6 separate regions of the Homo sapiens genome follow, and all the other regions are linked to region 4. Evidence: promoter capture Hi-C in 16 types of primary human blood cells and fetal thymus (Javierre and others, 2016). All regions are on one chromosome and are shown on one strand. The core of a region is centred on a gene start or on the middle of the fragment in contact, and the rest is flanking DNA. Distances in the headings are between cores, read along the strand shown.

Region 1 (3,645 bases), core at 4-2,503, 690 kb before region 4:
CTTTGTATAGGAGTATGCTCACTTAAATTTACAGAAAGAGGTGAGCTGTGTTAAACCTCAGAGTTTAAAAGCTACTGATAAACTGAAGAAAGTGTCTATATTGGAACTAGGGTCATTTGAAAGCTTCAGTCTCGGAACATGACCTTTAGTCTGTGGACTCCATTTAAAAATAGGTATGAATAAGATGACTAAGAATGTAATGGGGAAGAACTGCCCTGCCTGCCCATCTCAGAGCCATAAGGTCATCTTTGCTAGAGCTATTTTTACCTATGTATTTATCGTTCTTGATCATAAGCCGCTTATTTATATCATGTATCTCTAAGGACCTAAAAGCACTTTATGTAGTTTTTAATTAATCTTAAGATCTGGTTACGGTAACTAAAAAAGCCTGTCTGCCAAATCCAGTGGAAACAAGTGCATAGATGTGAATTGGTTTTTAGGGGCCCCACTTCCCAATTCATTAGGTATGACTGTGGAAATACAGACAAGGATCTTAGTTGATATTTTGGGCTTGGGGCAGTGAGGGCTTAGGACACCCCAAGTGGTTTGGGAAAGGAGGAGGGGAGTGGTGGGTTTATAGGGGGAGGAGGAGGCAGGTGGTCTAAGTGCTGACTGGCTACGTAGTTCGGGCAAATCCTCCAAAAGGGAAAGGGAGGATTTGCTTAGAAGGATGGCGCTCCCAGTGACTACTTTTTGACTTCTGTTTGTCTTACGCTTCTCTCAGGGAAAAACATGCAGTCCTCTAGTGTTTCATGTACATTCTGTGGGGGGTGAACACCTTGGTTCTGGTTAAACAGCTGTACTTTTGATAGCTGTGCCAGGAAGGGTTAGGACCAACTACAAATTAATGTTGGTTGTCAAATGTAGTGTGTTTCCCTAACTTTCTGTTTTTCCTGAGAAAAAAAAATAAATCTTTTATTCAAATACAGGGTGTGATATGGGTCTTTTCTCATCGACGCCTCTTTTTCCTTCCCTCTCTTAGGCAAACCTTTTAGAGAAGTCAGCTGAGCAAATATGTACAGGTGAATTCAAAGCAAAAGCCTCACAAAGTTGATTTGCCTTAGAGCAAAGGACAGTTCCTTTCTTCAATTCTAATTAGAGGTGTTGGGTTTTTAATTAAATATATTACTGCTGTACTTAGAGGAGTTCTTAAACCTCCAAGTAAAATCAAAAACCTCTTTAAAATCAAAATTTCTGTCTTGATTTATTTATTTATTATTTTTTTTTTGAGATGGAGTTTTGCTCTTGTTGTCCAGGCTGGAGTGCAATGGCACGATCTCCGCTCACCGCAACCTCCGCCTCCCAGGTTCAAATGATTCTCCTGCCTCAGCCTCCTGAGTAGCTGGGAATACAGGCATGCGCCACCACACCCAGATAATTTTGTATTTTTAGTAGAGATGGGGTTTCTCCGTGTTGGTCAGGCTGGTCTTGAACTCCCGACCTCAGGTGATCTGCCCACCTCTGCCTCCCAGAGTGCCAGGATTACAGGCGTGAGCCATCGCACCCAGCCTCTGTCTTGATTTTTTTGAATCACCAGGTGTTGGTATGTTTTGTTTTGTTTTGTTTTGAGGCACAGTCTCACTCTTTTGCCCAGGCTAGAGTGCAGTGGGGCAATCTCGGCTCACTGCAACCTCAGCCTCCCGAGTAGCTGGGATTACAGGTGCCCGCCACCATGCCCGGCTAATTTTTCTATTTTTGGTAGAGACGGGGTTTTGCCGTGTTGGTCAGGCTGGTCTTGAAGTCCTGACCTCAGTGATCCACTCGCCTCAGCCGAAGTGCTGCGATTACAGACCTGAGCCACTGCGCCCAGCCTTGATCTTGAGGTAAGAGGGTACTGTACAGCAGTTACTCTATCATAACACCTAAATAATACCTAAAGTTAAAGAGTTTTGATGAAGTTCTTGGCAGCAGTGCTTTTCCCCTTCTGCTTTCCAAAAGGAGGTAAAAAGAAGCCAGTCAATTTCAAAAACCCCTATCCTGCTTTTATTTTCAGCTACCTTGAAAGTGAGCTGAATCACCATGGAAATGTGCAAATGTGAGGTTTGCATACTTGGTTTTAAGCCCTGAGCACCATATGCTAATCAGGCAATCAGGATTCTGTGCCTCCCTGCAGTCAGTTGCATTTCTATTTAAAAGTGCATTTTGGTTTGGAAGCCCCTTTCTGGAGCCTAACTACCAAAAGGCAGCAACTTTTTGTATCATTACAAAGAAAGCTGTGTAAGTGCACTCCCAAGCAAAGGTGTGGTAGGAGAGTAGCAGCCACAGAGGACCCAAGCCCAAGTCTTGGCCTGAGTTAAGTTAGTGCTATTGCTCCCATTGACGTGCTATGATGTGAAGCCGTTTCTGGTACAGTGTTCCTTTGCTCAGCACCTTAAAAGCTTGGATTTAATAGTAACTGGGTAACCTTAATCAGTAGTCAGAATTATCAACACTTTGCTTTATTTGACACAACCAGACTTTCTCAGTTCCTGTTCTGTATCTAGAGCAACGTCTTCATACTGTTTTTTCACAAAATTTTTATTTAAAACAGTTGTGACAGCCGAAGGATTTTTTTTTTTTTTTTTACAAAATTAAAATGAAATAACTTGTACAACTGGTGCGTACCATGGCTCCAGCCAGATGCCCAAAGCACTGGCTATTAATTCCTGGAGTTCAGATGGTCAGTTGAGTCTATCCTAGTTTTTTGCTTCACTTGTTCAATCATGGAACTTTCTAGAACGCTGCCACTCTTCAAAGGCTTCTCAATTTCAAATTTGAAAACTTAATTCTCTCCCTCTTAGTTTCAAAGTTGTTACAGTGTTATCTATGTGAAGTATGTGGAAAGTTGGGGGCTGGGGATTTTCCTCCAGGCAGATTAAGAAACAGCTCTCCGGGTCGGGCGCTGTGGCTCAGGCCTGTAATCCCAGCACTTTGGGAGGCTGAGGCAGGAGAATCGCTCGAACCCGGGAGGCGGAGGTTGCAGTGAGCTGAGATCATGCCATTGCACTCCGGGGCCTGGGCGACAGAGCCAGACGCTGTCTCAAAAAAAAAAAAAAAAAAAAGGCACGGTGACTCACACCTGTAATCCCAGCACTTTGGGAGGCCAAGGTGGAGGGATCATGAGGTCAGGAGTTTGAGGCCAGTCTGGCCAATACAGTGAAACCCCATCTCTACTAAAAATAAAAAAAATTAACTGGGCATGGTGGCGGGCGCCTGTAATCCCAGCTACTTGGGAGGCTGAGGCAGGAGAACCACGTGAACCTGGGAGGAACCCCGGAGGTGGAGGTTGCAGTGAGCCGAGATCGTGCCACTGCACTTAAGCCCAGGTGACAGTGTGAGACTCTGTCTCAAACAAAATAAATACCTCTCTAGTGAGGTGGCTCACGCCTGTAATCCCAGCACTTTGGGAGGCCAAGGCGGGCTGATCACTTGAGGACAGAAGTTTGAGACCAGCCTGGCCAACACGGTTAAACGCCACTACTGGTGGCGGGCACTAGTAGTCCCAGCTATTCAGGAGGCTGAGGCAGGAGAATTGCTTGAACCCAGGAGGTGGAGGTTGCAGTGAGCCAAGATCATGCCACTGCACTCCAGTCTGGGTGACAGAGCGAGACTTCCTCTCAAAAAAAAAAAAAAAAAGGCCAGGGGCGGTGGCTTATGCCTGTAATC
Region 2 (3,506 bases), core at 552-3,051, 740 kb before region 4:
GACTCCTCTTCTTGAATTTATTGTTTCTATAAATAATCACCTTGAGGCACACAGTCTTCTCATTCTCTATTCAGTCAGCTGCTAGTCTAGTGGATTCCATTGTCACAGACTCTCTTGGTTAGGTTCACTATTTTCTATTCTTAACTACTACGTTTCTAGGTTAAATCCTAATTATCTCCCACCTAACGTTTGCAGAGGACTCGGCTAGACTGTTCATCTCTGGTAGTTTTCTGCTTGGAATTCTGAGTCTTTTTATTCATTACCACCAAATTATCTCCATAAAGAGCACTTCTTATCTGCCACTCTTTTTTTTTTTTTTTTTTTGAGACGGACTCTCACTGTCACCCAGGCTGGAGTTCAGTGGCGAGATGCGATCTCGGTTCACTGCAACCTCCGCCTCCCAGGTAAAAGCGATTCTCCTGCCTCAGGCTCCTGAGTAGCTGGGACTACAGGTGCACGCCACCACGCCTGGCTAATTTTTGTATTTTTAGTAGAGACGGGGTTTCTCCATGTTGACCAGGATGGTTTCTATCGCCTGACATCATGATCCACCCTCATCGGCCTCCCAAGGTGCTGGGATTACATGCGTGGGCCACCGTGCCCAGCCTTGTTTTGTATTTCTAGTAGAGACAGGGTTTCACCATGTTGGCCAGGCTGGTTTCGAACTCCTGACCTCAAGTGATTCGCCCGCCTACGCCTCCCAGAGTGCTGGCATTACAGGCGTGAGTCACCGCGCCCAGCCAGGCCTGTAAGCTTTCTAAGGGCAGAGACTGCCTTACTATACACGTACCCCCCCCAACTAACACAGTACCATCCACATACAGACAGACGCCCAGGAAATGTTAAACTGTAATTCTGGATAGGTTAACTAGTATTAACCGTATTTACCAAATGTTTACCACATACTTACACTGTCCTCCTTGTTTCAAGGAGCGTAGTCCCCAAGGGATCACCCTGATGGAATATAAAAACTACACATAAGAGTGAAACTACGGAACGTAAGCCATTAGTGTTTTGCAAGACAGCTCGGGTTGAGACTCAGTCTCTCTCTTCCACAGGCCAAGTGACACATCGTAATACCATTGGTACCGTTTTATTTTATTTTTCGCGACAAAGTCTCGTCCTGTCACCCAGGCTGGAGTGCAGTGGCGCGATTTCGGCTCACTGCAACCTCCGCCTGCAGGGTTCAAGCGATTCTCCTGCCTCAGCCTCCCAAGTAATTGGGATTACAAACGCCCGCCACCACGCCCGGCTAATATTTGTATTTTTAGTAGAGACGGGGTTTCACCATGTTGGTCAGGCTGGTCTCGAACTCCTAACCTCAGGTGATCCGCCCACCTCGGCCTCCCAAAGTGCTAGGATTACAGGCGTGAGGCACCGCGCCCGGCCTGTTAGTACTACTTTAAAATCGAATCTGACCTCCAAATCATTTTCTGGAGCTCGATCATTTTCTGCTAACACCGCAAAGCTTAATCCTCTCCACCTGAGAATAAAAGGTTCCATCCTTCCGCTCTCCAGTTTGACGCCCTGCTAAGTCTCTCGGACGCGGTGGGCTGGAGTGAAGGAAGCCGGAGCCCACCAAAGCTGCAAAAGTACCACAGCCAGCAGCCCCGCCCCCGATATCCCCCACAGGCTTCCAATTGGTCCTTGTGGCTCACTCTCTTTCCAGGTTGGTGTTCCAGCTTGCCGGTCGCCTCTATAGAGCCCACCTTTAGACGGCGACTATTGGTAGATCGTTACGTCATTGCCCTATCTACCTCACTCCCACTGGCTCTCATAGGAAGGGGCGGTCGCAACGTCACGGGCAAGGGCCGCCATTTTGACTGAGCAACCCTAGTGACAGGAGCCGAAGCAGCAGCGCAGGTTGTCCCCGTTTCCCCTCCCCCTTCCCTTCTCCGGTTGCCTTCCCGGGCCCCTTACACTCCACAGTCCCGGTCCCGCCATGTCCCAGAAACAAGAAGAAGAGAACCCTGCGGAGGAGACCGGCGAGGAGAAGCAGGTGAAGTGGAAGGGGTGCGGGCGGGCGAGCTGGGGAGACCGTGATGGGGCGGGAGACGGTCTCCCACCAGTGCGGATTGGTCGCCATGGTCTCAGGCTCCGCAGGGGTTGGCCACTTTTTGCGTCACGCTGGGTGAGCTTCAACACGACATGCTGCTTTGGCGCTGGTTAGTTGGGTCGTTTGTCACTCAGTACTGTACTCTTCCTGATTGGCCAATAGGCCTACCGCTCAAACCTTGGACGCTGTGCTATAATTGGCCGAGCATGGACGTGGGGCGGGTGGTTGGAAAGACGGTGAATGGAAAGGGGATGGCTGGTGGTCTTGGGTGTGATGTGTGTTATTGGTTTGTAGAGGTAAGTGACCCAGCAACCGGGCTGGGGCCCGCAGCCTCAATCCGCAAAGATAGGGGTCGAGGTAAAGACGTTTAAAAAAAAACCAGTATTGGGGGAGGGGAGAAGTGTAGTTATTATAATGGCTAGTTTAAGGCGGCAACTTTCTCAAGAGACCTATTTTAGTAGCTAAGGATGGTCTATTGCTCACCTTCAGTGAGGACCCAGCAATATTGAAGAGGGCTAGAGTTCCAAACAGAATCATGGTAATTAAACTTGGAAAAGACGCCGACAGGGTCGTGAGAAAGACACTTCTCTCTTCCCCTAGACTTCCAAGGCAGGGACTTAGTGCACCTGCGATTCCGTGATGGAAACACTAACGCCAAATAAACCCCTTATTGGGGTTTGTATTTGACTTTTAAAATTTAGTACTGGGTTCAGGTACTCATTAAATACACTTGGTGTTATATCTATGCGTAATTTCCAAGAGAAAGGAATATAATTCCACTAAAAAGAGTCATACGTTGACTTCATATCTTTTCAAAAAGTCACTAAAGGGCAGCAGGGACCACAAAAAAAAAAAAAAGAGATTGACTACAGTAGTGAGAGTCCCTGCACCACCAGGGTAGGTATTGATTTTTTTGATGAAAACTGGTGGGTAAATACTAGTGAGCCTACTGTATCTTTGTTTTCCTGAGGTTAAAAACAGTATCATTTTCCTCTCTGTTTATCAGCTTGCTACCATAATATTTGTGGAAATGTTGAAGCAAGGCTGTGCCATTACTCAGGTGGAGATCTTTGGAGAAGGCCACATAGCTAGCCGCCTCCACAGGGAGACCTAACAGGTGGCTTAGACCTTGAATAAAGAAGGAACTGCTTTGTCGTGTAGCAATTTTAAAAAAGAAAGAAAAAAATAAGGAGGAAACATTTAGCAAACTATTTTTTGTTGTTGTAGAGACGGGGTTTCAACATATTGCCCAGGCGGGTAGTGAATTCATGAGCTCAAGTGATGCACCTGCCTCAGCCTCCCAAAGTGCTGGGATTACAGGCATGAGTCACTGCTCCCAGCCCCAAACTATTTTTTTTTTAATTTCTCATGTGACATGTAGGATAGCCTAGGGAACCCTGCTACTCATCCTCTATCACCAGAAGCCCTGCTTTTTTCTCTTTGTCTTTCT
Region 3 (3,539 bases), core at 175-2,674, 720 kb after region 4:
TCCTTCTTTTAGGTCAACATGTTCAACAACAGTAGAATAAATACATAAGTTAATGTATATTCCTACAAAGGAATACACGTAGAACCAAATAACCATATGAATAACATGAAAAATTCATAGACATAGGACTGAGTGAAAGAAGTCAGACCTATGCCTCTGCTTCTGCAACCGCCTTTGCAAAAATTACAACTGGGACAATTACCACAGTGAAAGAGATCTGATCTAACTGATTCCATCTTGCTTCTAACGTACAAGCTGTCCTTGTTGATTGCTGGGCACAGGCCGAAATAACTTTGGGAGGAAATTAGTTTATGGTTTAGCTGTGAAACAAAGATGATAATATCCCTGTCCGGAAGCAAACCCCCTTCCTGCCTGGGGACTAGACTGCCTTTGCCGGACTAACAAATTAGCCACGAGATTAGAAATTATGGTTTAGGAGTCATGTAGCCTCTGGCTGCAAGATTCTAAACCTCCCCAAATTGTTCCTGGAGATCACATCGTTATTGGAAAACCTAAGATCAGTGCTTGAGATATTTTGCCGACCCTGCACTCAGTGGATCAGCTGGCACCAGCTAGACTGATAACCTGGCTCAGCTGGTCTTGTGGCCCCCAAGCAGGAACTGACCCAGCACAAGACCACAGCTTCAGCTCCCTGTGATTTCATCTCCGACCTGGCCAAGCAGAACTCTCAATTCACCGGCCCCCAATCACCAAATAAAGAGTGCAGCTCTTTATTGCAATTCCCCTGTGTCGAAAAATTGGCTCTGTCTAGGCAGCAGGCAGGGTGTACCTGTTGGGCAGTAACACTCCCCCCAAAACCCACTACAGACTGTGACTCAGCTTATATGAAAGTAAAGGGCAGGAAAAACTTGCCTGATAGATTTGCAGAGACGGGGGTGGAAACCATTAATAAGTCTGTGGAGTATTCTCAGAGTTTGGTGTTGTAGTCTACATATTAAAAGTAATCAGTTAAACACCTGAAATAAAACTTCTCCCAAATATTTTTGCCAAATTTGGATGACTGTGTTTCTGTCTTCGCAGCATATAAAGTGTTAACATGAGGTAAGCGCTAAGGTCTAGAGAAGGCAGTGAAGAGATGACAAACTCCAGCACCATGCCTGAGTGTCCAGTGTGCTCTGCTGGGGCAGCACATTTTTGTACATTGCTGTATCTGAAAAAAACCCTACAAGATTCATGAAACTGGACGACCGTCTTTATAATACTCCTAGTGATAAAACAAGTAAGGATGGCTGGTTTGCAGTCATCTGAGCAGCCTCTCTAGTTTCATAGATACGGTTTCTCTCTGATATTGAACGACTTCCAAATGTCAAGCGAAATGCTACATCACAAGGATAACCGTATGTGAAAACCGTTTTTCTTTGTAATCCTAAACTTTCTAGTCTGAGCTTTAAAAGCCATTATTTGAAGAAAAGCGCACAGGCTCCAGCTGGCCGCCAAAGGGGTCCTTTGCATCACAGGCTAAGAACCTACTTCTTTGGGAGAGACCAGGGACGGGGATGGGAGGGAAAGGAGGTAGAGTCAGGTGTCACTTCCTCCGCCCGCTCCCGCAGCTGGTTGGTCGGCCGAGTGGCAGAGGGTGGGGCGGAAGAGCAGACGGGGACGGGAAAGGCGCTGTCGGTGACATCACAGATAGGGCGATTCCTATGCAGAGGAGGCAGCTCAGGGGCTGCTGCTTCGCCACGAAAGATTTCTCGTGCTGTGGGAGCTAGTCCAGGACCTCCGGTTGGACGTGATAGTCCCAGCTGTGTGTCAGGGCTAGGAGGACTTGAGGCGGCATGGGGGCGGGGTGGGGGAATGCGCGGGGCAAGTGACCGTGCGTGTAAGGGGTGAGGCGTATGGAGCTGTGGCAGGGCGGAGGTGCGTTCATTCGTACTTACGTAACAGGAGAAAATACGGCCATGAAGTTGATGTTTCTCGGGGGCGATTTCTCCATTGTACTCAGTATGTGCTGACTGACTCCTGTTACTTCCACATGTGGGGAAACTGGACTGTAATTTGTGGTGGTGGGGAATTGCGTTCGCGCTTTCTTCTGGAGGTTGTAGTGCAAAAAGCAGTTTGTCTACCAAGTGATACTTTCAGCTTTTACAAATGCTGAACAATATCCGTGGTGTGTTTTCATGTCACCTCCTCTCCCTTCTTTGTTAGAAAAAAATGGAAGAGCACGTGGATGTTTTGAGATGAGAAGAGGTGCGTTCACCACCTTCACCTCCGTGTAGGCTTGTTATTAAGGGAAAGGGAACAAAGGAGTCTCACTTATGTAAGATGACCTTACATGAGAAGAAGAAATTCGAGCTGGTGAAAAGAAAGAAATTCAATTTCAGCCGGGCGCGGTGGTTGACACCTGTAATTCCAGCACTTTGGGAGGCCGAGGCAGGCGGATCACGAGGTCAGGAGATCAAGACCATCGTGGCTAACACGGTGAAACCCCGTCTCTACTAAAAAATACAAAAAAATTAGTTAGGTGTCGTGGCGGGTGCCTGTAGTCCCAGTTACTCCGGAAGCTGAGGCAGGAGAATGGCGTGAACCTTGGAGGCGGAGGTTGCAGTGAGCCGAGATCACACCACTGCACTCTAGCCTGGGGGACAGAGCGAGACTCCGTCTCAAAAAAAAAAAAAAAAAAAAAAAGAATTCAATTTCAACAGTCTAATATCCTGGCATGCAAGAGAGAAATTCTAAGACTGTCTCAACTGTAGAAATGTTCAGGGAGAAAAAAAAATAGATGATTATTTATTCTGGTTCATTCATTGTCTCGTTGAGTTTGTCAGATGCCAGGTGAGGTGCCTTACATGTGTTCATAACCTCAAGACATAAAAGGGAAGGAATTTTAGAATGATTCAATGATATCACTGTTTTGCCTAATAAGCAAATAATTCAGTAAGAGACACTTATTAACAAATCTAAGAATAAAGCTTCCTTTTTAATCACAAAATTGCCTTTCTTCACATTATCTTTCTTTACATTCTTTGACAAAGTACCCCAACCCATCAATATTGTCTGTCTTATCCAAACTGAAGGATGATAATCCAGATTTAAGAAAATATCTATCAAAATAATGACAACATTGAGCATGTACTCAGTATCTGCTGGGTATAGGGCACAACAAATATCTCTCGAGTTAGTACCAGGCCCTGTGCTGAGGCCTCCACTCCTCTCTAGCTCATGTGCACTGAGCAGCGAGTGCCACTGGCTCCTTGAAAGCTGCTCAGGCACCACCGTTTTTAATTCCCATGAGAGGTGCTGTGTGCACCCCAGTGGACAGATGAGGGAATGGAGAGCAGGTGGATACCCTTGGGTAGAGAGCCACACATGGTTGGATCCAGCTCTAGAAGGACTGACCCCTTCTCTACCCGACTCGAGAAAGCCCACTGTCAATGATCTCGACCTCTACTTTATGTCTCCTATTTCTGGAACGGAAATGACCTCGTGCATATTTCAAATTCTCCAGCTTTTCCTTGTCTTTCCTCCATCTTGTCAGTACTCAAATAGGAAAATGATATATACATATATGTTGATCATGT
Region 4 (3,731 bases), core at 977-3,476:
GTTCGGATAGGCTGAGGTAGAGTTTGAGTTTGAGGTGCTCGTTGGGATAAGTAGGTTGAAGTATTCTGTAAGCAGTTAGGCATAAGGGTCTGAGCTTCTGAAACAAATTTGGACGTTAGTTGAAAGCATATAAATGGGTAAGACTCTTCGGGATAAGTGAAGAATTGGAGACAGGGAAACAGTCCAGCTGGACTCGCAGATTTAGAGATGGGCAGTGGCATGGGGGAGCAGGATAAGAAAAGTCGGCGAGGTAAGAAGAAAAACAGGGCGACATTTTGAAAGCCAAGGGAGCAAGTTTGAAGGCCGCCTCCTGGAGGTCAAGAGGAGGATGACAAATCTATTCTAGCCTCGGTCAAACCGGATTCCGAGGAGTGCAGGCGGGTGGGGGTGGGGCGGAGACACGCCGCTGCGGGCGACTTAAGTTTAGGGGCGAGAAAGGAGGCAGCCTTAGTAGTACATGTATTTTTAAAGGGAATTTGGCTGTGACGAGACAGAAAGGGCGGGACTTGGCAGTTTAGAGCTCAAGGGGATCATCGGCTTCAGAATCCCCTACTCTTTCGTGAGAGTAACTCTCCGTCTAAGGATGTCTTCTGCAGTTCCTTAGGGTCCATATTGGGATTTCCCGGCTGTAAACTAAACAAAGCAAAGCAAAACAAAACAAAAACCCACAGTGCCTCTCAGTAAAACAAAACCAGTATTTTGTTTGAAAGCCTGCTCTCTTTAAAGATCCTGGCATGCAAATAAGGGGCTTTAATGTGGCTCTCAGCGATTGGTAGATACTTACAAAATCCGTCATTTCCTTTCAGTGCAGGACGCAAACCAAGAGGCGGCTTTCTGCTTTTCTATTGGCTGTTAGATACGGCTCCGCTTTTAGCCAATCAAACGACTTCCCTTCACCCCTCCCGGTAGCTCTTATAAATTACATCAAATTGGTTATTCTTTCCACATTCTTCTCCTTGTAAAAGAAGCTGTAACTGCAATTTTAGCCGTAATGTCAGGACGCGGAAAGCAGGGAGGCAAGGCCCGCGCTAAGGCCAAGTCGCGCTCGTCCCGCGCTGGTCTCCAGTTCCCGGTGGGGCGAGTGCACCGCTTGCTGCGCAAAGGCAACTACGCGGAGCGGGTCGGGGCAGGCGCCCCGGTGTACCTGGCGGCGGTCCTCGAGTACCTGACCGCGGAAATTCTGGAGCTGGCGGGCAACGCGGCTCGGGACAACAAGAAGACGCGCATCATCCCTCGCCATCTGCAACTAGCCGTGAGGAATGACGAAGAGCTCAACAAGTTACTCGGGGGTGTCACCATTGCCCAGGGCGGCGTCTTGCCCAATATCCAGGCTGTCCTGTTGCCCAAGAAAACGGAGAGTCACAAGCCTGGCAAGAACAAGTAATTAAGAGGCTTGACACCATACTCATTCACCCCAAAGGCTCTTTTAAGAGCCACCAAAGTGTCAAATGAAGGGCTGATCACGAAATAGCGCATTAGCTCTTTTTTTGAAAACTTGGGTGGCTCTAAAAAGAGCCTTTGGTCTTGGTTTGTTTGTCTGCATTTATTTGCTTTTGGCTTTGTGGCTTTCGGTTTTCTTTGGTAACAGAACGGCCTGGATGTTAGGCAAAACGCCGCCCTGGGCGATGGTGACTTTGCCCAGCAGCTTGTTCAGTTCCTCGTCGTTGCGGATGGCCAGCTGGAGGTGACGAGGGATGATGCGCGTCTTCTTGTTGTCCCGAGCCGCGTTGCCCGCCAGCTCCAGGATCTCGGCGGTCAGGTACTCGAGGACCGCCGCCATGTAGACGGGCGCGCCGGCCCCCACCCGCTCCGCGTAGTTGCCTTTGCGCAGCAAGCGGTGCACTCGCCCTACCGGGAACTGGAGGCCAGCGCGGGACGAGCGCGACTTGGCCTTGGCGCGGGCCTTGCCTCCTTGTTTGCCACGACCAGACATGACTGAAATCAAGGTTAAACACAGACAACGCTCAGAACCTCGCAACAAAATAAGATTGAAAGAGAACCAAGAGGAAAGCCTTTATAAGCTTTCCTAGGGGTGGGGTCAAGAACGAGTTTTTCATTGGTCCTAATATGGCTTCAGAACCGGCCAATCAAGTCAAGAGTCGGTGTTGTTACGTACGCATTGCTGAAAACGCAAGGTCCGCACACGGACCAATGGAAATGAACGACTTTCGGAGCCCTAATTTGCATAAGGTGGTTATAAAAGAATCAGGCCCGCCCATTCTCTTACTTCTTTTCTTGGCTAAGCCGCGTTTGTACTGTGTCTTACCATGCCTGAACCGGCAAAATCCGCTCCGGCCCCTAAAAAGGGCTCCAAGAAAGCCGTCACCAAAGCCCAGAAGAAAGACGGCAAGAAGCGCAAGCGCAGCCGCAAAGAGAGCTACTCCATCTACGTGTACAAGGTGCTGAAGCAGGTCCACCCCGACACCGGCATCTCGTCCAAGGCCATGGGCATCATGAACTCCTTCGTCAACGACATCTTCGAGCGCATCGCGGGAGAGGCTTCCCGCCTGGCGCACTACAACAAGCGCTCCACCATCACATCCCGCGAGATCCAGACGGCCGTGCGCCTGCTGCTGCCCGGCGAGCTGGCCAAGCACGCCGTGTCCGAGGGCACCAAGGCGGTCACCAAGTACACCAGCTCCAAGTGAGTCCCTGCCGGGACCTGGCGCTCGCTCGCTCGAGTCGCCGGCTGCTTGACTCCAAAGGCTCTTTTCAGAGCCACCCACCTAATCACTAGAAAAGAGCTTGTTCACTTATTCCCTTAGTTTCTTTTCATAAAGTAAGTTATTTTAGTGTGAAGGTCATGGGAAATGGCATACGTAGCTTTTTAACTATTTGGAACTCGAGGTCCCCAGTGCGTCATTGGATTTGCTTTTGAATCTAGAGCGTGTCTTTACTCATTGTGCTGCTTAGCCTTCCCAGGAGTCGGTTCTCAATTAGGCTGTTGGGAATCCGCCTCTTTACCCGCCCCCACTCCCGCCCCACACGCGCCCTGGTGGCTCCTTGGGTCTGTTTCATTCTAAAACGAAGTGGCTGAGTTCGGCTGTCATTTAAGAGAACTCCAGGACACAATTCAGCCCGGGTTCCGCAAACACTGCGTGACAGCTCTGTATGACTGACGCTTGGCAGCAGCTTTTGTGTCCGGTCACCAGTTCTGCCGTGCGATGGGGCCTCCTGTGGATACCAGCCGTTCTGTGTATTTTGGACGAAGGCCGCGCAGCCGGGTCCCAGCCTTGTCCTGATTGGGCGACAAGAATATTCAAAATTCTGCGCCTTTTTCTAATTTGTAGATTTCAGTTTCCGTCGTTCACTTTGAGACTTTGAAATTCCTATTTCTCATTTTGTTGATAATTTCTGCATTTAATGGTCTGTGCTTTAAATGGTAACGCTACGGCCCCAGGTCACTGCGAGGCACTTACCATGTAGATACGGGCTCAAAAGTCACCTCTCAGAGACCTACGTCATCCACTCAGGAATTCGCGCCTCTCATACTTGCCTGTCTCATTTTATCTTCCTTCTAGCAGCTGTCTGAAATTGGTTCGTCTGTTTTCTTGTTTATGGTATTCTCAAGCCCTTGACAGACCGGCTAGTGTGGTTTTCCCGTGCATCTTCAGCCTGGCACATTATGGACACTTAAATACTACGTATTGATCTAATATTGTTGGGTTAATTTTTCCATCCCACCCTTTTCTTAATCGCTTCCGTGGATGGATGAAGGGTGCTGTTCATTT
Region 5 (3,933 bases), core at 216-2,715, 600 kb before region 4:
TATATGAGAGTTTAAAAAGTTGATCTCACAGTGGTAGAGAATAGAGTGATAGTTACCAGAGGCTGGAAAGGATGGGGGAGGGGAGATGAAGAGGTTGGCTAATGGGTACAAAAATAGAGTTAGACAGAAGGAATATGCTCTAATGTTCCATAGCAGAGTTGGGTGAATACAGTTAATAATAATTTATTGTATATTTCAAAATAGCTAGAAGATTTGAAATAGTCCCAACACAAAGAAATGATAAATGTTTGGGGTAACAGATATCCTGAACACCCTGATTTGATCATTACATATTGTATGCATATATCAAAATATCACATATACCCATTCATATGTTCAATTATTATGTATCAATTATTAAAAAGTAAATTAATGATTTAAAACAGACAGGGTTACAATCCACAGTGGGGAGAAAGTTGCTCATCTCTCAGCAACTGTAAACTTGCAAAGGTGAAATGAGTTACCAGAGCAACAGAAGCTTTCATTTCTTTCCCCAATGAAAGGACAGAGACTCTGATGCAGAAACTAATACAGATAAAACAAATCTCAGGCCGGGTTTGGTGGCTCATGCCTGTAATCCCAGCACTTCGGGAGGCTGAGATGGAAGGATCGCTTGAGCCCAGGAGTTCAAGACTAGCCTGGGCAACATGGAGAGACCCCGTCTGTATAAAAGAACAACAACAAAAAACAAAAACAAAATCTTCAGGAAAGGCTATCTTAATGGGGACGGAACAGAAACAAGCAGACCAAGTTTTCTTCCCCTGCTCAAGTGAAGAGAAAGTAAAGGGGCAGAAGGATAATCCTGGTAGTTACAGGATGGGCCTGTTACCTGATCTGCCGGGCTAGTTGGTAGGGGGTTGTGTTCCATGCCACAGCATCAATTTTCTGGCCTCCAGGAAGTGATATCTTAATAGTCCGGGGTTCCTTCTGTGCCATGCTTGCTAATCTCTTTACCTGAGCAGCCCACAGCTCCTCAAAAAGGCCAAGCCGCTCTGCCAACCAGCGTGGAGGGGTCGACACAACTGCCTGGAGGGAAAGATATATTAGCAGGTAACACACGTCCCATCATTCTTTCTTAGAATTGCAGATGATGGCACTTTGGGATGGTTAAGTGGACTTCGTCCGAATTCCTACTTTTTAAGGGGATTGGGTGATACAAGACCCTAGGCTGGGGGTCCTTCGAGCTCAGAGTCCCCCAGACCGCTAACTCGAGAATTAGATAACGAGTTTAGATACGAGTCCTTTTCTGGGGACTCGGAGGACCAGGGAGAGGAGGAGTGGCGTGAGGCTGGGTTAACATAAAAATTTGGGGGCTTCGGCTGGGCTAAGTCTGATGCGGATCGGAGCTTTGGGGGTGCCTCACGCACCGTGTGTAGCCTGCAAGCCTGTAAACCTTGGAGCCGGAGACACCGCCACCTCTGATACAGGGCCATGTTCCTTCACACCAGTGCCTACATCCTCAAACAGATTATCGCCGCTTCTCCTCCACGTAATTCTTCATTGGCTTCTGGTCCAACAAAGTCCGTGTCTATTGGTTACTACAGCTGCCACTCTAGTCTGGCACCACCTCCAGGAACTCCGAAGAGGTACACCCTACACAGCACCAGCAGCGGTGTGAGTGGTTCCGGCTGACCGGAAGACCGAAAATGTAACACACCCTCGCTATTCCCCCAGACCCGTGGCGTTTCAGCTGAAACCCAAAAATAGCAATTAGGCGTCCTGTGGCTTTGAGGACAAGGGCAGGTGAACTTTTGAGGGCGAGAGTGGGAGAAAACCAGACAGGAAATGGTAGTAATTTCCCTTTAACTATACATTTTATTTTACGTGGTCCTTACAGCAAGTAGCAAAACTTAAGAGCATAGACTGGGGAACCAGACAGACCTAGTGTAAATTCTGGATCTGCCATTAACTATGTAATTTTGGGAAAATTATTAAACTTCTCATATTTATTTAATAGAGACCGGGGGGGGCGGGAGGGGGGGGCGGGTCTCACTATGTTGGCCAGGGTAGTCTCGAACTCCTGGCCTCAAGCAATCCCTCCCCTCCCCCCCACCAAACCGCCACCGCGCTCCGGCCTCCCAGAGTTCTGGAATTACAGGCATGAGCCGCCTTGCCTGACCTATTTAATTTCTCTAAGCCTCAATTTTCTCAACTATAAAATGAGAATAGTGTTGCTCCCAATTGTTGAGTTAAATTTTATGTAAATCGTCTAGTGTGGCCCATGGTTTTTTGGTAATGGGCAAAAGCAACAAGAAGCTATTATGATAAATGACTGTAACAGTTTTATTTTTTAATTTTGAGACAAGGTCTCACCGTTGCCCAGGCTGGAGTGCAGGGGTACAATCATGGCTCACTGCAGTCTCGACCTCCTGGGCTCAACTGACCACCTCAGCCTCTGGAGTAACCACTTTAAAGCTGGAGCAAAGATGGCCGCGCGCAGTGGCTCACGCTGTAATCCCAGCACTTTGGGAGGCCGAGGCAGGTGGATCACCTGAGGTCAGGAGTTCTAGACCAGCCTGGCCAACATGGTGAAACCCCGTCTCTACTAAAAATACAAAAATTAGCTGGGCGTGGTGGTGGGCGCCTGTAATCCCAGCTACTTGGGAGGCCGAGGCGGGTGGATCACCTGAGGTCAGGAGTTCTAGACCAGCCTGGCCAACATGGTGAAACCCCGTCTCTACTAAAAATACAAAAATTAGCTGGGCATGGTGGTGGGCGCCTGTAATCCCAGCTACTTGGGAGGCTGAGACAGGAGAATCGCTTGAACCCGGGAGGTGGAGGTTGCAGTGAGCCGAGATCACGCCATGCACTCCAGCCTGGGGGACAAGAGCGAGACTTCATCTCAAAACAAAACAAAAACAAAAAAGCTGGAATCAAGAATCTGCAGAGGTCAGTTTGAGTCCCTTTATACTCATGGTGCTTAATAGGGACTTTATAGACCTTTTAATCTTTTTTTTTTTTTTTTGAGATGGAGTTTCACTCTTGTTGCCCAGGCTGGAGTGCAGTGGCGTGATCTCGGCTTACCGCAACCTCCGCCTCCCCAGGTTCAAGCGCTTCTCCTGCCTCAGCCTCCCGAGTAGCTGGGATTACAGGCATGTGCCACCCCAGGCCCAGCTAATTTTGTATTTTTAGTAGAGACAGGGTTTCTCCATGTTGGTCAGGCTGGTCCCGAACTCCCAGCATCAGGTGATCCGCCTGCCTCAGCCTCCCAAAGTGCTGGGATTACAGGCGTGAGCCACCATGCCCGGCCGAGACCTTTTAATCTGACAGATGAGGAATTTAAGGTCAAACAGCAAGTGCTGATGGTGATTTCTGAATCCAAGCTTGGTTTTCTTTTACCACACCATGCTTTCTCTAGAAGAGTTTGCTCCCAGTATACTCCCCCATCACCTCAGAAAGAGGTGCCTGACTAGAATTTTAGCTCTCTGCTCCCTACATAAGCCCTTTGCCTCTAATTCCTATCCCAGCTCTCAACTTCCTTTATCCTTTCTCTTCCCTCTCCCTGATACATCTAGGACACAGGACTAGGTAAATTTCATCAAATTTACTCAGTAAATATGGGAACATGGTCAGATTTGTAGTAAAGTATGAAGGGAAACTGACTTGGGGGTAGCCATCAGGCTGTCAGTAATTCTCATTAGTCCCCTCACCTGGAGGTGGGGATGGTTAGAGTTGGTTCTGAAGTTTCAATGGTGATAGAATCAAGGGTTGTAGAGGAAGAGGTGTCAGAAAAAGCAGTTTAATCAAGGTTTCCGGAGAGACCAGGTTTCCCGGGCAGGGCAGTTGATCTGAGTCACAGGAGCCTCCATGGATCTTGGGTCCATCTTCTGGTAGACACCCTGAAATACAAAGAGAAAGAGACAAGAGTGTGGGAGAGGAAGATAACTTGTGTGTGTGTGGTTTGGAGAAGGTAGTTAAGAATTTTTAAATGGC
Region 6 (3,725 bases), core at 566-3,065, 530 kb after region 4:
GAATGCTTTGATGAAAATGGCATTTTATAAAGATTGATCTGGCAGCAGTAAAGTCTCCCAAAGAGGCTACTCAAAAAACCACTGCAATACATTGTTGAGTTTTCTCTCATTCATTTCCCTTAATTTATACAAGTTATATAATTTAATTAATTTTGTGAATATCTTAGAAATAATCATTGCTTCTAATATGGATGAGTCCTTTACACTGTTCCAACTCAACAAAAACTAATCATGCTAGGAAAAAAAATATATTGGAAGCATTGTAATGTAATGTACTTCTGGGAGATAAATTCTTAACAGTTCTAGGTAGAATCTAATAGCATAAAAGGCACTGCAAAATAAGCTATCCTTGTCTATGGAATGAGAACCATTTCTTCATAAGACTCATTGCTTTTAGATACCTGAGAGTGCTTCTCCTCGTTGTAACACTTCTTCGATATTGGCCACCATGATCCTCTGCACATCTTGCAATTCAGTGTTGATGGAGCCTAGGTTTCTTCGAGCACAACTGTCAATGTAGAGCTTCTTGGTTTTCTGAATGAAAGTATCTAGAATGATGAAGAAAACTGACCATTTCTTTCATGGCCATCAAAGTACTGAGGTAGGAAATTAAAAGTTCTGAGTTGGCCAGGCACGGTGGCTCACACCTGTAATCCCAGCACTTTGGGAGGCCAAGGCAGGTGAATCATGAGGTCAGGAAATCGAGACCATCCTGGCTAACACAGTGAAACCCCGTCTCTACTAAAAATATAAAAAGTTAGCCAGGCGTGGCGGCACACGCCTATAATCCCAGCTACTCAGGAGGCTGAGCCAGGAGAATCACTTGAACTTGGGAGGCAGAGGTTGCACTGAGCTGAGATCACACCACCACACTTTAGCCTGGGTGACAGAGCAAGACTCTGTCTCAAAAACAAAAACAAAAAAACCAAAACAGTTCTGTCTTTATTCCTGGATTTGCCACTGTCCATGGTTAACCAAACTCTTGGTTGAATATCAAAATCTAGGCTTTGATTATTTCATTTGTAAGATGTAAAGGTATAATTAGACGACCATTCAGGAGAAATGTCCTTTGAATACCTTTAAATTAGAAGTATTTGCTATCTAAGGCTGCTATCAGAATCCTTAGAGAAATTAAGACCCACTATAGTAAGCCTTTCCTGAAAACAGAAATTTTCAAACAGTATTCTGAGGACCCTTAGGCTAAGTGTTACTTACCTCTACACATTCCTTAAAAGGATGCTGGTAACACTCTAGCATTATTACAGCCTAACATGGCAAAAGGGCTCATGATCATTAAAAAGCTGAGAAACTTTACCTTATTTTCTCTAATATACATTCCCAGTTTCATTCCATTCTTAAACCTCAGGTAAAGCAAGTATGTAATAGGGAGTTTTCCAAAATACCAATATAAAACTGAACTGAAGTCTCGGCCAGGTACTGTGTCTCACACGTATAAATCCCAGCATTTTGGGAGGCCAAGATGGGTGGATCACTTGAGGCCAGGAATTCGAGACCAGCCTGGCCAACAAGGCAAAACTCCCATCTCTACCAAAATTACCGAAATTAGCTAGCTGGTCATGGCAGCGTGCACCTCTAGTCCCAGCTATTCAGGAGGCTGAGGCACAAGAATCACTTGAACCTAGGAGGCAGAGGTTGCAGTTAGCCAAAATCATGCCACTGCACCCCAGCCTGGGCAATAGAGCGAGACTCTGTCTCTAAGTAAATAAATAAATAAATAAATAAAAACTGAAGTCTCATCCATCTTTTGCTCATATCAGTATTTCTCAAAACTATAGGAAGAACGACTTATTATTAAAGATATTTTCAACATTTGGCAAAAATCTTAATTTAAGTGTGCTGTACCCCTTTCATTTGCCTCTTTAGATCTCCTCTCTGCCCTCCTGCACCTTGCTTTCTGCACTGGGAAGCTGACTTGGATGAAGCGCCTCAATAGACTCCTTGCTCTGTGCCAGTTAGGTTCAGGCAATGAAGAAGCCCCAACAGTAGGGAAGAAGGAGAACAGACAGTGAGTGATGTCCGGGTATTTATTCCCCTGGCTTCTTTCAGAGAAGGAAATAACCTTCTTCTGGAAGTATCCCTCTACCAAAAGTTACGCTCCTCTCAAGTTGGCCTTCTCTAGAAATTTTCTCCTTTTCAGTTTCAGAAACTGCTCCTCCCCCTTATACATTCAGGCCTAGGGATGGTAACAACCAGTATGCTACTGGTCAGAGGTTACTGTACCTTGTAATTCTCCTACAGCCTAGTCATATCTTTGTATATAATCCCTTAAGCTAATTTGGGTGTGCCATCTGTTTCCTGTATGACCCTGATACATTTGTCTTCTTTTTGAGGGAGGTTTATGGGAGTATTACTGTCTATAAAAATAAAATTTGAAAAACTGGACATTATATAAAGCAGCACTTGGAGAGTATATAGTTATGAAACACTAGAGTGTTTTTCCAAAGCAAGATGACCCATTTATCTAGCAAACTTGAAACACTTCAAAAATTCTAAGCCAGTAAAACCAATTTCTCTTTTAACTAAAAATTGCAGCGATATAGCCTGATCCTACTTGTTCTCACTCCCTGTACTTACTGTACTTAGGACATTTCCTTTGATCCCTTACCATCAGATACTTTACCAGGTCTGATTAGTAATTGGTCTTTCTATAATTCTTGTACAAATACAGACACCTATGCTCACCATTCCTGAATGTAGTAAATATTATACCCCAATACCATGAGTACCAGGTATCTTCTATTTCTTTGTTCTGTTTTGTTTTTTTAATTAGAGGATCTTATTCTACTAAAAGAAACAAAACATCATTCTTTCTGATTTCCCAATTCTGATCTCCATAAAATGAGCCTTATTGTGAGTGTGAGTCTGTGGACTGGGGTAAAGAAGAACTCAGCCATTATATGCCAATCAAGTAGATCTTTAGCAAAGTTCCTGTCACATGTGACTCTAAAGAAGAATCAAACCAAATAACAGAAAGGGCAAAAGGCAACAATTTCTATGGAGGAAAGATCAAAAGACTAGAGAAAATTACTTTTCAGAACAAAGCCTTAGTCACTCAAAAAGACAAAAAGAAGTGGAATGGAAAAGGAAGCAGAAGCTAAAACTTCAGCAAGTAAACATCAGAAAAAATGTATAAATATTATATCAGTGTAACAAATAGCTTCTCCATATTGTTTGCTCCCTTGATAGAGAGAAGTGAGGGGCAAAAACTTACCAAATTCAATAAAGGAATAGGGTCGGGACACAGTGGGCACCTTCTTTCCATGCTGTTCATCAAATTCTGAGTGCAAATCTTCTAGGTAGGCAAAAGCCAACGTCTTAGGGAAGGCAGCTTCACATAAAACCAAATCACACACCCCCTGCTCAATAATGTAGCTGGTGAGACATAAAAAGCAAGACAAAGTTGTCTGTAAAGTAATAGCACTGACAACAGTTTAAAGCAGAATCTCTGTACCATGCAAACTTTTTTAAAAATCTAGCCTAAATACTTTGAGGCTGGCTAAACGAGAGTCAATTTAAAACCGCAAATCCTTGGAATCAGAAAGCAAACATCTTCCCATTATTAGATGTATATTCTTTTTTTTTTGTTTTTGGTTTTTTTTTTTCTTTTTTTTTGAGACGGAGTCTCGCTCTGCCCCCGGGCTGGAGTGCAGTGGCATTATCTCGGCTCACTGCAACCTCCGCCTCCCGGGTTCAAGCCATTCTCC

The links. The method cuts DNA at HindIII sites, captures the fragments that hold promoters and counts their contacts. A CHiCAGO score of 5 or more calls a contact.
Region 1: a contact is called between a fragment that was not itself captured here and the fragment with the promoter of H2BC21 in region 4, in 1 of 17 cell types (non-activated CD4 T cells). The highest score is 5.5, in non-activated CD4 T cells.
Region 2: a contact is called between the fragment with the promoter of ENSA here and the fragment with the promoter of H2BC21 in region 4, in 1 of 17 cell types (fetal thymus). The highest score is 6.9, in fetal thymus.
Region 3: a fragment that was not itself captured here is called in contact with the fragment with the promoter of H2BC21 in region 4 in 6 of 17 cell types (naive CD8 T cells, total CD4 T cells, activated CD4 T cells and 3 more); the score reaches 12.1 in naive CD8 T cells.
Region 5: a contact is called between the fragment with the promoter of TARS2 here and the fragment with the promoter of H2BC21 in region 4, in 1 of 17 cell types (non-activated CD4 T cells). The highest score is 5.6, in non-activated CD4 T cells.
Region 6: a contact is called between a fragment that was not itself captured here and the fragment with the promoter of H2BC21 in region 4, in 4 of 17 cell types (M0 macrophages, monocytes, M2 macrophages and 1 more). The highest score is 11.1, in M0 macrophages.

The regions. Positions count from the first base shown.
Region 1 is chr1:150,571,837-150,575,481 of GRCh38, reverse strand. MCL1 (MCL1 apoptosis regulator, BCL2 family member) reads left to right here. Exons shown (of 3, transcript NM_021960.5): 3 at 1-924. It overlaps ADAMTSL4-AS1 (ADAMTSL4 antisense RNA 1), which reads left to right and starts at 930. Exons shown (of 4, transcript NR_104133.1): 1 at 930-1,358; 2 at 1,661-1,823. The HindIII fragment of the contact is 2,255 bases long and covers 126-2,380 here.
Region 2 is chr1:150,627,907-150,631,412 of GRCh38, reverse strand. It overlaps ENSA (endosulfine alpha), which reads left to right and starts at 1,801. Exons shown (of 4, transcript NM_004436.4): 1 at 1,801-1,999. The coding sequence starts at 1,943. LOC112268239 (a long non-coding RNA gene) reads right to left here and starts at 1,594. Exons shown (of 2, transcript XR_007066603.1): 1 at 911-1,594. RefSeq lists enhancers at 137-1,106, 1,107-2,074, 1,817-2,086. The HindIII fragment of the contact is 4,295 bases long and covers 1,471-3,506 here.
Region 3 is chr1:149,161,296-149,164,834 of GRCh38, reverse strand. LOC124904581 reads right to left here. Exons shown (of 4, transcript XM_047439510.1): 3 at 1,492-2,093; 4 at 654-948. The coding sequence ends at 837. It also overlaps the pseudogene RNVU1-24. Among named protein-coding and RNA genes, the nearest start is that of NBPF9, 60 kb to the right of the region's middle. The HindIII fragment of the contact is 3,009 bases long and covers 1-2,928 here.
Region 4 is chr1:149,885,177-149,888,907 of GRCh38, reverse strand. It overlaps H2BC21 (H2B clustered histone 21), which reads left to right and starts at 2,226. Exons shown (of 1, transcript NM_003528.3): 1 at 2,226-3,731. The coding sequence starts at 2,268. The coding sequence ends at 2,648. H2AC20 (H2A clustered histone 20) reads right to left here and starts at 1,990. Exons shown (of 1, transcript NM_003517.3): 1 at 1,497-1,990. The coding sequence starts at 1,933. The coding sequence ends at 1,544. H2AC21 (H2A clustered histone 21) reads left to right here and starts at 943. Exons shown (of 1, transcript NM_175065.3): 1 at 943-1,439. The coding sequence starts at 992. The coding sequence ends at 1,384. RefSeq lists enhancers at 873-1,162, 1,183-1,322, 1,733-1,792, 1,923-1,992, 2,313-2,602 and 6 more. The HindIII fragment of the contact is 10,069 bases long and covers 2,024-3,731 here.
Region 5 is chr1:150,484,951-150,488,883 of GRCh38, reverse strand. It overlaps TARS2 (threonyl-tRNA synthetase 2, mitochondrial), which reads right to left and starts at 1,465. Exons shown (of 18, transcript NM_025150.5): 1 at 1,368-1,465; 2 at 830-1,026. The coding sequence starts at 1,433. It overlaps LOC124904416 (a long non-coding RNA gene), which reads right to left. Exons shown (of 2, transcript XR_007066600.1): 2 at 3,530-3,839. RefSeq lists enhancers at 1,371-1,640, 1,134-1,640. The HindIII fragment of the contact is 2,845 bases long and covers 481-3,325 here.
Region 6 is chr1:149,350,919-149,354,643 of GRCh38, reverse strand. It overlaps the pseudogene SEC22B2P. Among named protein-coding and RNA genes, the nearest start is that of NOTCH2NLC, 38 kb to the left of the region's middle. The HindIII fragment of the contact is 7,809 bases long and covers 1-3,725 here.